3 separate regions of the Homo sapiens genome follow, and regions 2 and 3 are each linked to region 1. The links are contacts of gene promoters, found by promoter capture Hi-C in blood cells and fetal thymus (Javierre and others, 2016). All regions are on one chromosome and are shown on one strand. The core of a region is centred on a gene start or on the middle of the fragment in contact, and the rest is flanking DNA. Distances in the headings are between cores, read along the strand shown. Region 1 holds the start of VEZF1 (vascular endothelial zinc finger 1). Region 2 overlaps MRPS23 (mitochondrial ribosomal protein S23). Region 3 has its middle 24 kb from the start of MRPS23.

Evidence for each region. Contacts are between HindIII fragments. The CHiCAGO score rates a contact against its expected background, and 5 or more counts as called.
Region 2: a fragment that was not itself captured here is called in contact with the fragment with the promoter of VEZF1 in region 1 in 4 of 17 cell types (neutrophils, megakaryocytes, monocytes and 1 more); the score reaches 9.1 in neutrophils.
Region 3: a fragment that was not itself captured here is called in contact with the fragment with the promoter of VEZF1 in region 1 in 1 of 17 cell types (neutrophils); the score reaches 5.3 in neutrophils.

The regions. Positions count from the first base shown.
Region 1 is chr17:57,986,873-57,989,572 of GRCh38, reverse strand. It overlaps VEZF1 (vascular endothelial zinc finger 1), which reads left to right and starts at 1,319. Exons shown (of 6, transcript NM_007146.3): 1 at 1,319-1,494. The coding sequence starts at 1,462. LOC101929185 (a long non-coding RNA gene) reads right to left here and starts at 1,463. Exons shown (of 1, transcript XR_001752716.3): 1 at 1-1,463. It also overlaps a transcript of SRSF1 not described here. RefSeq lists enhancers at 717-856, 877-926 and silencers at 1,077-1,356, 1,427-1,906, 1,987-2,056. The HindIII fragment of the contact is 4,468 bases long and covers 1-2,700 here.
Region 2 is chr17:57,845,297-57,848,044 of GRCh38, reverse strand. The region is part of intron 2 of MRPS23 (mitochondrial ribosomal protein S23); the gene reads left to right. Among named protein-coding and RNA genes, the nearest start is that of MRPS23, 3.4 kb to the left of the region's middle. RefSeq lists an enhancer at 1,206-1,813. The HindIII fragment of the contact is 4,492 bases long and covers 1-2,748 here.
Region 3 is chr17:57,825,081-57,827,780 of GRCh38, reverse strand. No RefSeq gene overlaps it. Among named protein-coding and RNA genes, the nearest start is that of MRPS23, 24 kb to the left of the region's middle. The HindIII fragment of the contact is 8,525 bases long and covers 1-2,700 here.

The sequences.
Region 1 (2,700 bases), core at 70-2,569:
ATATCTCCTTGGTTTTCTATTACAGTAGAATTCTCCAGCCATATTTTTATTGTCTATGGGGGAAGTTGGAGATGGTGACCTTGATTAGAAGTGTCTGGAGGGGGATAAATGGAGGGGATAAGATTCAGTTGGTTTTGGAAAATGTTAAAGTCTTAAAATAATGCGTCCATCTGAAGAATTTTTTCTAAAACCAGAGTTTATAAAAATATCACTGATACAGCCTGCCCCCTCATTTCCCTGCCACAGGAGATGTCTTGGACTAGAGACACTTGTTTAATAATAGCTTGTCTCTGATATTCCCAGTAGCTTCCCTCTGTGTGAGGAAAGGATAGAAATGTTCAGGACATCATCATACAGGCTCCTCATCTACAAAGTTCCAGTAGCAGTGACGCCTACACGGAAGACTTGGAACTGCAAACAGGCTGGGGTCACCTCAGTGACATCTGACGCTGTCCAACCAGAAGTTCGATTTTTGTTCTGGGGGTGAAGGAGGAAACAGACTGTACTAAAGGACTAAAATAATTTGTCTATACTATCTCACTTGTTTTTATTTTTGGCGGGAGAGGAGGGGTGTTGGGATAGAATTTCACATCCTATCTTGGAGTGAAGGGGAGGATGGGGAGGCTCAGCCCTTCACCCAAGAATAACCCAGTAATGACATCTCTACGCGTGGGAAGTGTTTCCCTCCACACTGAGAGGATCTGAGGCTGCACCCCAGTGGGATTCCCTGCTTGAGTTGGAAGGCCATCTCGCCATGAGATGCATATCATAGCGAGAGCGCAGAGGGCTTAGCCGGCCGGGGAGGAAATGCCAAAAGGAAGAGAGGCTCGAAGTCGAAAGGGCTTCCCCCAGTTTGGAGGTGGGGACCATGCTGTGCATGAGCGACTGAAGAGCCGAGTGTCCGCCGTGGCCTGTGCCCTCCGCTGAGGGTCTAACAGGGACGCGACGGTGCTGGACACCGTGTCTGAGTCACGGGAGACGGCCCAGCTGTGCCCAGCGGGCCAGCGCCAGACCCTGGCGTCCTCCATCTTCTCTCCTGAGCTCCCCCTGCTCCAGCTGCCTGAGCCACGGACCGCAGCACCACACACCCCCGCGGGGGGGGACGCCGCGCCCCATCCCCGCCCCGGGCCCCACCCCAGCCCCCCCGCGGGGGCCCTGACCCCACCGCCAGCGGGCACTGGCTGAGCTCCGAGGCGGCGAGCCGGCAGCGGGGACGCCCAGAGGGGGTCCGGGCGACTGGGGGCGGCGGCGGCCGGGCCGGGGCTCCCCCCCCGCCCGCGCTCGCCGCCGCGGTGGTGCGTCCCGGAGGTTACCGGAAGTGGCCGCGCTCGGCGCTGCCATGTTGAGGAGCCGCCGCTGCCGTTGCCGCCGCCGCCGCCGCCGCTTTGTTGTCGCCTCCTCCGGCTGAGGAGGCTCCCCGAGCGGGGGGAGTGGGGAGGAGGGGGGTCGGCCGCCGCAGCCATGGAGGCCAACTGGACCGCGTTCCTGTTCCAGGTACTGGGGGCCCCCCCGGGGGGGCACGGGGGGGACAGGGGGGCCGGGCCCCGGGCTGGCGGGCGGGCGGGCGCTCCTCCTCCCCTCCCTCCCGGCTCCGCTCTCCGGCCCGGCCTTAATCCCCCTTTGTTTTTCCGCCCGCCCGCCCCGGCGAAGCGGGGCTGCTGAGGTGAAAGGAGGCGGCCTCACGGGGTGCGGGGGAGATAGCAGGCCGCGGGGTGAACCCGGGGGCCCCCCAGCACACACACGCACACACACACACTCACACACACCCTTCCCTCTCGCTCTGAAGGGGAAGGGAGGAGGCCGGTCGCTGTCACCACCCCGCGGCCCAGAGAAAGGAGGGCGCCGGGCCGCTGGATAGCGCGGGCTGCTGGGCCATTGCGTGCCGGCCCGGTCCCCCACGGTGGGGTGAGGAGGTCCCCAGGTCCTGCCCTGAGTCTCCTCCCCGCCACTTCATCCATCTTTCGCTTGTTCTCTTTTCACCTTCCTCGTCTTTTTGTGTGTGTGCGTGCGTGTGTTGACTTTCTGACCCCCTCCCGTGTCCCCGCGAATAGCGGGTATCCCCAGGTTCCCCGCCACTCCCCCTCACCGCCACCACCCCTCTCGTGTTTACCCAGTTGGGGGGGCGGATGTTGTGAGTGTGTATCCCCTCCCCAAACTTTTTCACTGGATTTACATTTTTTTTTCCCAAGTCTCAGCCGAGCCTTGGCAGCTGACACCTTCTCCCTCTGTCCAGCTCTCCCGCCGTCCCATTCAGCCTGGGGAATCCCCCAGCCGGGCCGGCCCGGGGCAGGCGGGGAGCGGTGGGGGCCGGGACTCCTGGAGGCCCGACCTTCTCCCGAAGCGCTTTTCTTTCTCGCCCACCTCGAACGTTTCCTCCAACCAAGTGGAGAGAGCAAACAAAGTCCGCTTACAAAGCCCCCAGATGAGTCACTCTCTGGGATGTTGGTCTTCGCTTTTTTGCAAGAAACTTGAAAGTGACTGTAGCCGATGTGTTTTGGCAATTCTCTTGCCCGCCCACTTTAGATGGGGGACCCCTGTTTGGCAGATCTAGGCTGGAACTTATTTTTTTCCTACTTCGTTTCTGTTTGCAAAACGAAGCATTCAGTGGGCAGTAGCGATGAGCTCACGGGGAAACTTCGGAACTGGAGGAGGTTAGGAAGCTCGTCACTTTTAAGTGCGTTCTTCCCGCCTCTCTGAGTT
Region 2 (2,748 bases), core at 247-2,746, 140 kb after region 1:
TATCCTTGTCAGTATTGATAATGATTATTTAAGAATTTTTTTTTTCTGGGCCAGGCACGGTGGCCCACGCCTGTAATCCTGGCACTTTGGGAGGCTGAGGTGGGCAGATTGCCTGAGCTCAGGAGTTCGAGACCACCTTGGGCAATATGGTGAAACCCTGTCTTGACTAAAATACCAAAAATTAGCCGGGCTTGGTGGTGGGCACCTGTAGTCCCAGCTACTTTGGATGCTGAGGTGGGAGAATCGCTTGAAACTAGAAGGTGGAGGTTGCAGTGAGCTGAGAGTGCACCACTGCACTCCAGCCTGGGCAACAGAGGGAGACCCTGTCTCCAAAAAAAAAAAAAGTTTTGTTTTTTTCTGATCTAAGTATTTTTTTTTTTTTCGAGATGGAGTCTCACTCTGTCTCCCAGGCTGGAGTGCAGTGGCGCAATCTCGGCTCACTGCAAACTCTGCCTTCCGGGTTCATGCCATTCTCCTGCCTCAGCCTCCTGAGTAGCTGGGACTACAGGCGCCCACCACCACAGCTGGCTAATTTTTTGTATTTTTAGTAGAGACAGGGTTTCACCGTGTTAGCCAGGATGGTCTCAATCTCCTGACCTCGTGATCCGCCTGCCTCGGCCTCCCAAAGTGCTGGGATTACAGGCGTGAGCCACCGCGCCCGGCCTCTTTATTCTCTTTTTTTCCAAAACTTAAATAGTCACAGAAAATGTGCTCCTAATGGTTGCCTAGGAACATTCTTTTTTTTTTTTTTTGAGATGGAGTCTCGCTCTGCCACCCAGGCTGGAGTGCAGTGGTGTAATTTCAGCCCCATGCAACCTCCACCTCCCGGGTTCAAGCTGTTCTCCTGCCTCAGCCTCTTGAGTAGCTGGGATTACAGGCTCACGCCACCATGCCTGGCTAATTTGTATTTTTAGTAGAGATGGGGTTTCACCATGTTGGTCAGGCTGGTCTCAAACTCCTGACCTCGTGATCCGCCCGCCTTGCCTCCCAAAGTGTTGGGATTACAGGTGTGAGCCACCGTGCCCGGCCTCCTAGCAACATTCTTAAAAATATCTTTAAAGTTCTCTATTTTTTCTTTTTTTTATTTTTTATTTTTAATTTATTTTTATTATTTTTTATTTTTTATAGTATTTATTGATCATTCTTGGGTGTTTCTCGGAGAGGGGGATTTGGCAGGGTCATAGGACAATAGTGGAGGGAAGGTCAGCAGATAAACATGTGAACAAGGGTGTCTGGTTTTCCTAGGCAGAGGTCCCTGCGTTCTTCCGCAGTGTTTGTGTTCCTGGGTACTTGAGATTAGGGAGTGGTGATGACTCTTAACGAGCATGCTGCCTTCAAGCATCTGTTTAACAAAGCACATCTTGCACCGCCCTTAATCCATTTAACCCTGAGTGGACACAGCACATGTTTCAGAGAGCAGGGGGTTGGGGGTAAGGTTATAGATTAACAGCATCCCAAGGCAGAAGAATTTTTCTTAGTACAGAACAAAATGGAGTCTCCCATGTCTACCTCTTTCCACACAGACACAGTAACAATCTGATCTCTCTTTCTTTTCCCCACATTTCCCCCTTTTCTATTCGACAAAACCCCCATCGTCATCATGGCCCGTTCTCAATGAGCTGTTGGGTACTCCTCCCAGATGGGGTGGCGGCCGGGCAGAGGGGCTCCTCACTTCCCAGACGGGGCGGCCGGGCAGAGGTGCCCCCCACCTCCCGGACGGGGCAGTGGCCGGGCGGGGGTGCCCCCCACCTCCCTCCCGGACGGGGCGGCTGGTCGGGCGGTGGCTACCCCCCACCTCCCTCCCGGACGGGGCGGCTGGCCAGGCGGGGGCTGCCCCCCACCTCCCTCCCGGACGGGGCGGCTGGCGGAGCAGGGACTGCCCCCTACCTCCCTCCCAGACGGGGCGGCTGGCTGGGTGGGGGCTGCCCCCCACCTTATTTTTTTCATACAAAAAAAAAAAACAAAGATGTCACACTTCTTTGGGACTACTTTTCTGTTTTCATGTTTCCCCTTTTGTGTGCCCTGAATTTTGTTCATACTGCCCCTGTTGTGGCCTTAGCCTGTCTTTAATAGCTCTACATTCCAAATGCCCTGTCTTTATTCAATAACAAACATTCATTAAGCACTGTCATGGGCCAGGCATTGTCAAATTCATTCTTGTAACTTCAGTGCCTAGCCCATTGTGTGGCATATAAGTTGCTTATTAATCGTCTCTTGAATGAAGAAGCTAATGGATTAATGGACAGATGAACTATGAGGCTGGTAGAGAGAAACGAAAGAAAATTCCTTGGAGAGGAATGGTGGAGGGCCAGGACTGGGACTGTTTGGAGAATGGCCATCAGAATTTTATTAGTTTTCTGAAACAATTTCAGGAACAGTGGGCTAGAAACCACTTCTATGGCCACATTTAGCATCCCTATACATTTATGTAAGATCTAAGTAAGTGGTAAATCTCTCACTGGGAGTTTACTGACAAAGCCCCTCCCCTTGAATACTGATGTTAATTAGCTTTTAGTACCTTGAATTTGTCTAGTTCCTTTTTCTCTTAAATATTTATACCAATGAGTGTGCCTAATTGACTTTGATACACATCCCTTATTCTTACTGTTGTTTCAGGATGCTAGAAAATGGAATTTATAAGGTCATTATGTTCCGAATTGGGGCCCAGGCTTTCACCCCGGGACCCCCAACACCAACACTCATTTAAAGTAGCAGAACAAGTATGTTCTTGTTCTACTTGGATATTTT
Region 3 (2,700 bases), core at 101-2,600, 160 kb after region 1:
GATCCCTGCTCATCGAAACCTCCGCCTCTTGGGTTCAAGCGATTCTCCTGCCTCAGCCTCTTGAGCATCTGGGATTACAGGCATGTGCCACCAGGCCCGGCTAATTTTGTATATTTAGCAGAGACAGGGTTTCTCCATGTTGGTCAGGCTGGTCTCTAACTCCCATCCTCAGGTGATCCGCCCGCCTCGGCCTCCCAAAGTGCTGGAGTACAGGTGTGAGCCACGGTGCCTAGCTGGCTCCCGCCTTTGTAAGATGAAGGTAAGAGCCAATGGTTTCAACAGACAGCTGGATGGACTCAGGGTCCAAGAAGTCTGAGTGATCATGAGAAGAACTAAACAGAGGGTGAATGCTTTCAGATCCCAGGACTGTAGGATATCTTTATGGCTTGTCTGCAGCTATGGGTCCCAGGCCCCTGAGCAGGAATCTGAAGGAGGGTCCTTCCCAGAGTTAAGGCTGTGTCAGTCCCCAGGCTACTGTGGTCAAGTCGGCCTGCTTCCCTCTTGCTCATGAAGGTCTGTTCTCTCTGGAAATGTCCCAGAAGCTGGCAATAAAGACAGTTCCCTTTATAGAGCAGCTGCTTCTTTTTTAAAATTTAATTATTTTTAATTTTTTCTTTTGGAAACAGGGTCTCGCTATGTCACCCAGGCTGGAGTGCAGTGGCATGATCAAAGCTCACGGTAGCCTCTACTTCCCAGGCTCAAGCGATCCTCCTGCCTCAGCCTCCTGAATAGCTGGGACTACAGGTGTATGAGACCCTGTCTCATTTTTCAATTTTTTTGTACAGATGGGGTCTTTCTTTGTTGCCCAGCCTGGTCTTGAACTCCTGGGGTCAAGCGATCCTCCTTCCTGACCTCCCAAAGTGCTGGGATTACAGGTGTGAGCCACCTCGCCCAGCTGAGCTGCTGCTTCTGAAGCCTGCTTTGACATTAAGCTGTTACAATGCATTGAGGGATGCTAGGAAATGGTTGTATGAGGCATACTTTTGTTTTTTTCTGTGGGAATGTTACTGACCATTTTTTCCTCTATGAAGACCCGTGGGATAAATATCTTTCACGTTTTAGCTTAAGGAATAAAAAACTGTGCTGCTTTTGAACAACTTGGGTGGTTTGCTTCTGCGGTCTTGGCAAATTTGGTGTCTTAGTTTCCCTCTTAGCTTTGGCTGTGGGGAAATTCAGAGCTTAATTTACAGTTACATGCAGCTCTGGAGTAGGAGATGGCATTATTTTTGATTATTATGAAATATTTCAGGCATTCAAAAATTACAGAGACTCTACAACAAATATCTACTTACCCATCACCCAGGTTAAGACATGAGCTTCTTGTATCCATTCCTGATCCCTTTCTTCTTTGTCCCTACTCTCGTGGTGGATATTTTCCTGGACTTGGTGTTTATCTTCCCTACTTAAAAAATAATAATTTTTTCTACAAACGTATGTATCTATAATAAACATACAGTATTGTTTTACACATTTAAAAATATTATAAAAGTGGCTTTATACTGCATGTATCCCTCTGTAATTTGATCTTTTTACTCAAGAGTTTTCTTTTGAAACTCACCTGTTTTGCCACATGTAACTCTAGTTAATTCATTTTCACTGCTGTACAATATTCTATTCTAAGACTAGATGTATGAATATGTAGGCTTTAAGAGTATGGCTCTGGGGCCAGGCTGCCTTGGTTCAAACCCCAACCCTGCCACTTACTAGTTCTGTGACCTTGGGCAAGTGACTTAACCTCCTCTTCTCGTCTCTGTTTCTTCATCTGTAAAATGGGGCTAATGATACCACCTATCTAATAGAGGCGAAAATAAATGACTTAATAGGTGAAAAGCATTGAAAATATTCCTGGTATATAGTGTAAGACTTGGTCTCATAAGCACTAATGGAACATTCTTTTAAGAAATGCCATATCACTAATGTCCTTCATGGAACAGAACAGGAAGGTATGTAGAAAAGCACAGACATCAAAGACACTGAGTCTGAAAGGGATTCAGACATGTCAGACTGAACAGGAAGATGTTTAAGACCACATTAATAAACTTAATTCACCTGTAGCTTCTATTTTTATGTATGTAGTAGAATAAAAACACTATGCAAATAAATTAAAAAGAGTTATTTTCATAATTAAAAAAATAAACATTAGAAGGATTTTTGGCTGGGCATGGTGTCTCACGCCTGTAATCCCAGCACTTTGGGAGGCCAAGGCGGGTGGATCACCTGAGGTCAGGAGTTTGAGACCAGCCTGGCCAACATGGTAAAACCCCGTCTCTACTAAAAATACAAAAATTAGCCGGGCGTGGTGGTGGATGCCTGTAATCCCAGCTACGCGGGAGGCTGAGGCAGAAGAATCGCTTGAACCCAGGAGGCAGAGGTTGTGGTGAGCTGAGATCACGCCATTGCACTCCAGCCTGGGCAACAAGAGCAAAACTCCGTCTCAAAATAAATAAATAAATAAAAATAAAAATAAATAAATAAAAACAACAACAACAACAACAAAATGATTAGCCTGGTGTGGTGATGGACACCTGTAGTCTCAGCTACTTGGGAAGATCCCTTGAACTGCAGTGAGCTATGATTGTGTCACTGCAGTAAAGACTGGGTGACAGAGCTGAGACCCTGTCTCAAAAACAAAAAGTGATTTTTTAAAAAGAGAGTTGGCTATTATTGTTATATATTTATTTTCCTCTTGGAGGTTTCAGT